Linked DNA regions of Homo sapiens: region 1 is linked to region 2. The links are contacts of gene promoters, found by promoter capture Hi-C in blood cells and fetal thymus (Javierre and others, 2016). All regions are on one chromosome and are shown on one strand. Each heading gives the region's core, a stretch centred on a gene start or on the middle of the fragment in contact. The rest is flanking DNA. Distances are from core to core; before and after follow the strand shown.

The links. The method cuts DNA at HindIII sites, captures the fragments that hold promoters and counts their contacts. A CHiCAGO score of 5 or more calls a contact.
Region 1: a fragment that was not itself captured here is called in contact with the fragment with the promoter of GPRIN3 in region 2 in 1 of 17 cell types (total CD4 T cells); the score reaches 6.0 in total CD4 T cells.

Annotation. Positions count from the first base shown.
Region 1 is chr4:88,817,864-88,822,128 of GRCh38, forward strand. The region is part of intron 7 of FAM13A (family with sequence similarity 13 member A); the gene reads right to left. Among named protein-coding and RNA genes, the nearest start is that of FAM13A-AS1, 110 kb to the left of the region's middle. The HindIII fragment of the contact is 1,690 bases long and covers 1,151-2,840 here.
Region 2 is chr4:89,306,123-89,310,193 of GRCh38, forward strand. GPRIN3 (GPRIN family member 3) reads right to left here and starts at 1,678. Exons shown (of 2, transcript NM_198281.3): 1 at 1,493-1,678. RefSeq lists silencers at 1,628-1,677, 1,688-1,757. The HindIII fragment of the contact is 16,857 bases long and covers 1-4,071 here.

The sequences.
Region 1 (4,265 bases), core at 746-3,245, 490 kb before region 2:
ATTGAAACTGTATTGCAAGCATAAGAAGACAAAACTAAAAGAAAAGCAACATACCCTTTACATCTGAGTAGTTTCATCATTTACAAAACAAACAAAACAAAACCCACAAAACCAAAACTATCACTTTTTCTTTTTCTTGAGACAGAGTCTTCCACTGTCGCACAGACTGGAGTGCAGTGGCATGAACTCAGCTCACTGCAACCTCTAACTCCAGGGTTCAGGTGATTCTTGTGCCTCAGCCTCCCAAGTAGCTGGGATTACAGGAGCATGCCAGCACGCCCAGATAATTTTTTTTTTTGTTTTTCTTTTTGTATTTTTAGTAGAGACGGATTTCACCATGTTGGCCAGGCTGGTCTCAAACTCCTGACCTCCAGTGATCCCCCCCGGACTTGGCCTTCCAGAGTGCTGGGATTACAGACATGAACCACTGTGCCTAGTCCTATCACATTCTTTAACTCCAAAATCTCCCTCATAAAATAAGTACCTTGGGTGGTATCATCTCTTACAGACAATGAAAATGACCTGCTCAAATTCATATATGGCCAGCTAGCTGTCAGTGTCTATATATGTTTTCTGATGGCAAGTTTACCACTGGTTTGTACTGAATAGTTAACATCTTTACTTTTTCAGTGGTTTAGACAGGATGATCCTAAAATTTGAAAATATCCTCACCTTAGTTCATGTTATCTTCTTTATTTGGAGTAATTAGCAAATATTTGGGCTCCATGGGTAATTAAACCATCATGTGAGAACAGAGCCCACAGAGATCTTATTTGTTCTCACTGACAGTGATAAAGCATAAATTCAGACACACAACCCATAGGCACTGGCCCAGATTTAAAGTGAGGCAGCTTTTAACTCCCTCCCAGACTGTGTTTGTGGAGGGAGAGGGCAGTGCCAGGAGTGCTACCAGAGTGCCAACAAGTTAGGAAAAACAGAGACTTCTAGATAAATTAACTGAAAGGTGTCATCTCCACGAGCAGCAGAGGGCTCTCTAACACCACACAGAAACTCACAAGCTGGCCCAACATTACCTGGGTTCTTCCCTGGTGAACTCCCATACCATCCCCATGTTATCAACGTTTACGTTGGCAAAAGGATATTCTAAAGAGCGATGCTTAGGAAGAACTGATGAATTCTACTGATAAGAAGCTTCAGTGAAACTTTTAGATATTGGGTCACTAATACATGTTTATTAATCGTCTTTAAGTCTTTTTTGAAGAAGAGCCACTGCAATTTGGAATTATGATGTGCTTCACCATCATAAAACAAATATTCAATAATATACACTGGATATCATTATTTGCTACATGAAAAAAATAATTACATAGACATGATTGATTTCAGCTTCTCACTTTGGTAGACAAACCCAGGAAAGAACAGGATGCCAACACATGAAAGCAGATGTCAATGCACTGAAATCAAAGGAATCCACATCAATCATCAGCACTCACAGGTTCATAACTTCATCTCATCTGCCATCATTATTCCTTGTGGATATAAATTCAGTTAGTTTACTGGAAAGTTAGTCTAGCAAATTAAAATACTGCAATGAAAGTTGAGAGTTTTGTCATAGCTATGACTCAGAGTTAAAATTTTGTATCTTAGCCTGCTTGAGTCTTTCTATACATAAAATAGAGATCCTTACCTACATCCCCACAATACCTAAGGGGAAGAAAACTCAATGAAATATGAATTGTACAAAGAGCCTGTGGTACAAACTAGGCCTGAGATCTGACAAAACAGATTATCTCATTAGTGACAGAAGGTAAATTTAGTCACCTGAGAAAACTTATATTTCAATTCTTAGTTTAATATAGTTTCTCCCTCCCTTTATTTCTGATATTATTTTATTTTTCTCAAGGAACTTTTTCCGATGCTAAGAATATCCATATAAGTTGATACACTATGTTGAGTTTCATTATTAGCTATAAGTAGTATGTAAATATTTTAGTATTTTAAAAAATAACTGGGACTGTTTAATTATCTCAATAGAGATAGTTAATAAGATCCTGTCTTTAAGCCATGTAGTGAATCATTAAGAACTGAGGACTTTACAGAAGGTTGTAATTTAAACATTCAGCCTCTGCCATGTTTTTTCTAAAGATCATGAGTTTCTAAACAGCCAACTCCATCCTGGAAACTCTGCCAATAACATTCAGTAATAAACAGATAGCAAGACACATTTTATTTCATTTTTAGTTTTTGACCTTATCTGTCATTCTCATCTTGGCTACAGATTAGCAGTAACAACGTATCTTCTATACACTCTCACAATACGCTAAGAAAGGCTAAAGAGGCATTTATGAAAACTGTAAGTTAAGTAGACATTAGGGTACAAACATGCCCCTAATAAAATCACACACTTACACGGGGTTAAATAATACACAGGATAATATTATCCATCTAGGCACATCTCTATTATTACTATGCTAATCATACTGTGTATTACTGAATTCACCACATGGTACTGTAATTGTCTGGTAATGTGTCTGCATCCTAACTAGCATGTGACCTCTTTGAAGGAGAGCTGTGTCTTAATTACCTTAGGATAACTGGCAGTACAGAGTAGTGTTCAGTCAAAGAGAAAATATTAAACAACACTCTAAGTATGTTTTGTTTTAATAGGTAAAACTGACAATTTAGGAAATGAAAGCATCAATTATGAAAAAATCCTCACATAAGGTCAGATATTAAATATGCTATTTGGAGATGTTGAGTAGTATAATGCTAGATTCCTATATATGCCAGCTGTCACTAGCTTTATAAGCGCTATAATCATTAACTAGAATTTAGATCAGTGTTTCTCTACGAGTGGACCATCTGCATTAGATTTAGGAAGCTTGTTAAAATGCAGATGCTCTCTCTGCTACCTCCAGATTTGGATGCAGTGAGTCTAGGGAAGGAGGGCAACAGGAAGGATTTGATTTGAAAAATAAGTTCCTTAGGTAATTCTCATGCACTCAAAGTATGAGAAGCATTGAACTCTCTGCTAAATACAAACAGTGAGCATGAATTTCTTTAGCTGCTATTTAAAGCTATTCTTTTACACATCCAATTTCAATGTAGTTTCTATCCCTTGGTGCTCTTAAACAGAATGGAACAAAGCACTCCTTCCAAGAATACTGCTAAGGCTCTGGAACCTTCCTGCTTCAGGCCCATAACGGTGGGGAGAGTCCGCAATAGTCATCATTACCACGAGAGTCACAGAAATCAATAGCCAAAGATACCAAACTGGGATTTGAAGAAACAATTACACGTAAGGGCGGGAAAGTTTTCTACACAAATGCTTAAATTCACAAGGCACGCTTAACAAAGACAACCGCACAAACCTGGTCTTTACCTTCAGGAGGTTTATAACCAAAGGTAGGTACAGGCTGGCAGTAAAGATTGCAGGGAAATCAGTCAAATTAAACTCTAAGAGCTGGGTAAACATTGCGGCAGTGAATGCACGTAACAGCGCTCTTCAGAATGGTAATGCAAAGAAACAAAAGTAGCAACTCAACATTCTTGAATGCAAATTCAAATTATTCCTGCATTTATTCCTACTAGGTTCATTAATCATGACTAAAAATACAAAATAATTTACAGGAAATAATGATGGTTTTATTTTAGCTTTAATCGTTTTGATTGCCTAAACAATGTTTTAACAGTATAAAGATCTATTTTCTTCTTAACAATTATTAGAGCATCACATGGCTGGCTATTAGAGTTCAGTAGTAGCCAATATTCTTATCTAGAATACAATTCGCTTAAAACCCTTAAGAACTGATGTCATTATAAGGGGAAAAATGTCTCCAACTTTAAAGTTGGAAACCAAATCAAGACTCCACAAAGTGTTTTAGTCTCTCACAAGCTTTAAGCATGTGGACATTTTCACTGAGTTCACGTAGAAAAATTTTAGATATATTTGTAAACCACTTTCTGCTCCCTTGGATTCTTAATTTTTACAAAAGGAACTCTTTGGACACCCCCATCAGGTTCCCATGACAGTGTCCTTGTTAGTACAGTGAAGGAAAAATGACTATACTGTTTTATCTCACTGTAAGTATCTGTAGAAACCATTTTGCAAATAAGCAATGTTTTAAAGCTTATTTTTCATTGCTAAAACAAAAACATTCACTGAAATATTTGTGGCATGGTTTTTAAAAATGAAATTAGTTTTTGTCTAGTTTTTTTTATCCTTAAATAAACCACATTTACTATTTGATTTAAAATTTTTTTTTTACTAATAAAACCTTCTATAGTTTTCCTAAATGAAACAT
Region 2 (4,071 bases), core at 428-2,927:
ACTAAACACACACAAAAACTCGAAAAAGAACATTCTCTAACGCAAACTCCTGTCTTTTGCAGATAGCAGCAGAGATTTTCTGCTTTGGGCTGTGACTCATGTACCTTTATTCCCACAATTGTTACTCAGGGCAGGCCAATGGTGAGCACAATGGGAAAAGAAAGAATAGGTTATAACTGGAAAATAAGCACATTCGGGCGAAGTACACTCAAAGCATTATCAAAGTAAAATATGCAGCAGCACCAACAAGAGCAAACAAAAGCCCACGCAGGAGATGTGTAAATATTTCATGAAGCAAAGCCTTAATCAACCCTCTCTCCCAAATCTTGCTGGTGTTGTAAACACTTCAGTTTCTTCTAGTCCCACCATGACCCAGATACCTTGCAAAAACAAAATAAAAACATAGTCCAATGGATCTTTAAACAAATGTGTTGTGAAAATATTTAGATGGAGCATACCCAAGTACCGCTTTAACCAAGAGGAAGAAGACACCTTACTCAAAGGTGGGTGCTTCTTGAGTGACTGCTCAGAGCTCTGTTTCTCCCCTCCCCCTCCAAGCCCTTGCCTTTTGCCCACCTCCTCGGCTGCTTTGTGGACATTCACATCGTCTTAACCTTGAACTGCCTACACCCCAAGCGGTGATTTCTCCCAATGGCCCTCCAGAAAGCCCTTGAAACCTGGTCTGGATTCGATGCCTTCCCATCACCCAAAATTCACTTCCCAGTGGCATATTAAGTACCTCTCCTTTTTTCCCTCTTTCACTGTCCATTATTGCGTCTGAAATGATGCCTACATCGTTTCCATCTGCCTGGAGAGCATGAAGATCTTCTGTGTGTGTTGGCTGACAGGCTCCTTCAGACCTCTTCTAAAGCCCATCTTGAAAGAACCGTTTATCACCTCTAGTCTCTACCCTGATTTAATGTGGTTCCAAAGTTCGCCTCTATTAGTGAACATGTCTCTACAACGATTTCCCTTTATCAACCCCTGCCCGCCCTTCCTCTTCTTTCTGCCTACCTCAAGAAAACCTATTTACATATGCATTTATGTATGTGTGTGTATATACACACACATACATACATCCATATGTAATATATATTTCTATGTTTTGACCTTAAAGGGGATAAGCATAGGAAAATGAGACAAATGTCACACACACACACACACACACACACACACCCCTCATATTCGGATATTCGCAGTGTGCAGACCCGATTGATTATAAATTTCCCTGCCCACGATCAGCAGGCGTCTTCTCCCATTTACCTTCAAAGCCAGAGCCAAAGAGAGCAATGACCTTGCAGAGAAATTCATCACCTGCGAGAAAGACTGCCCCTCCTAGAGCGCAGGATGGGACAGAGACAAGAGCAACAGGCAAAGGATCCCTGTGCAAAATGTGGGACCGAATCCCTTCCGCATCCCTACAGAGCACACCACCAGGCTCCGGTCCCCCGCGCTGGCCGCCAGGCGGAGGTGCGCAGGGGGCGTCTCCTACCTGCTCTGCCCGGCTCCGCGGCGCGGCGGGGCCACTGCCTGCGCTGTGGCGGGGGCTTCCCGTCGCATATCCCAAGCACCGTCTCTCGGCGCCACACCGATGGCTCCGGCGGGCCCGCGAGCTGAGGTCCTTCTCAGCCCGGTCCCGGAGCGAGCTCCGTGCGTTCAGGAACTGAAATTACTATGCCAAGAGCAGAGGCGGCGCGCAGCAGTCGGGCGTAGACCGAGGGGGCTGCCCCCACCGCGGGGCTGCAGACGCCGCCGCCGCCCCCGCCGGGCGCAGAGCCAGTTTGGAGGTGAGAGTTCACTTGCCCGACTGTTCATCCGTCAGGCCCGGGGTGTACCCATCTGTCCAGCGCTGCCCAGCCTGAGCATCCGAGAGAGGGGCGACAGCTTTGCAGGCGGCGGCGGCGGCAGCAGCAGCGGCGGCAGCAGGAGGCCGAGCTCCGCCCCCTCCAAACCCCCTCCCCCGCCTTCCCGGTCCTGGGGGAAAGTGTTGCAGCCCAGGCTGCTGAGCGCCGGGCCGGGAGCTAGGAGGGGTCTGGTGGGTTGTGGTTCTGCACCCCTGGAGACCAGAGACAGATGGAAAGTTAAGAAGGGATTAAGGAAGAGGGCTGGGGACCCAGAGCGATTTAGCAGGCATTCTGGCCCTTGCTCCCTCCCACAGGTCACCAGACTCCATGGCTGAGTCTAGACTCTAGCAGAAGGTTTCCAATAAAGCCACGTGCAGTGGAGATCTGAAAGCAAGATCATCCGATAAGTAATATGTTTTGCAAAATGTACAGTATCCTGCGTATTCGGAGAGGCACTGCTGACAGTGTTCCTGTCCCCATCCCCTTCCCGCTACCCCATGGGCTTGGAGGGCTTTGAGGGCTTTGGAAATCTTCCCTGTTGAGCAGCTCCAGAATCCTGAATGGATGTGTAGTATGGTTAGCAGCTGTAGATGGTGCAAAATGATACGATGAAAAGAGCTTCATTATTAACTGGGTATTTGTTGGAAGGCTCTGTGAAAAATGCCTTACATACAGCCTCAGCCTCTTTAATTCTTACTACAACCCATTGAGGTGCCTTACCATGTGGACGAGGAAACAGGCTTATATGATCTAAACACTTTGCTTGAGGTCACACAGTAGTAACCTGCTCAGCTGGGATTCAAACCAATCCAAAATATATCCTCTCATCTAGTACACAGGACTCACCTAGGGGGTCTTGTTAAAATGCTGATTGTGATCCAATAGGTCTGGGGTAGGGACTGAGGAAACGCTTTTTTAGTTTTTTGTTGTTGTTGTTTTTTGTTTTTTGCTTCGTCTCCTAGGCTGGAGTGCAGTGGCGCGCTCTCGGCTCACTGCAAGCTCCGCTTCCCGGGGTCAAGCGATTCTCCTGCCTCAGCCTCCCAAGTAGCTGGGATTACAGGCGCCCACCACCACGCCCGGCTAATTTTTGTATTTTTAGTAGAGACAGGGTTTCTCCACGTTGGCCAGGCTGGTCTGGAACACCTGACCTCAGGTGATCCGCCCGCCTCGGCCTCCCAAAGTGCTGGAATTACAGGCGTGAGCCATGCCTGGCCCAGGATAGGCATTTCTAACAAGCTCCCAGGTAATGCCCATGCTACTGGCCAAAAGATCAAACTTTGCGGCACTATTCACAATAGCAAAGACTTGCAACCAACCCAAATGTCCGTCAATGATAGACTGGATTAGGAAAATGTGGCACATGTATACCATGGAATACTATGCAGCCACAAAAAAGGATGAGTTCATGTCCTTTGTAGGGACATGGATGAAGCTGGAAACCATCATTCTTAGCAAACTATCACAAGAACAAAAAAACAAACACCGCATGTTCTCACTCATAGATGGGAATTGAACAATGAGAACACATGGACATAGGAAGGGGAACATCACACACCGGGGCCTGTTGTGGGGTTGGGGGAGGGGGGAGAGATAGTATTAGCAGATATACCTAATGTAAATGAGAAGTTAATGAGTGCAGCACACCAACATGGCACATGTATACATATGTAACAAACCTGCACGTTGTGCACATGTACTCTAGAACTTAAAGTATTAAAAAAAAAAAAAAAAGATCAAACTTTCTAAGCCCCTAGATCAGGGATTTTAAATAAGTTTCTTCTTTTATGCCAGGTGTAGTTAATTGATAGCTGCTTCCTGAAGGTGGGTTAAGAAGGATTCTCTGGCTCTGTCTGGGTTCTCCGGCTAGCCATGTTCATTTTGGTTGAAGACGAAGGGAGCTGGGTCATCTTCCCTACACTAGGCCGCTTCTAAAAGGACATCTTTATGACAGGAGTGGTTGTGGCATAATATTTATGTCATCATAGTATTCATATCATAAATATGCTAAGCACAGATGTCTTTATTCCAGTTCTCCCTCTCATTAAGCAAACTAAGCCAAAGTTTTAGGCCTAACATTTGTATAGGATGAAACACTTTGCAAAGTGTTCATGTGAATAATTTTATTTGTCTTTATACAACACAGTAAGGCAGATATAATTTCACTCTACAGGAAAGGAAACTGAGATAGGGTGACTTTCCTGAGATTATACATTTAATATATTATATG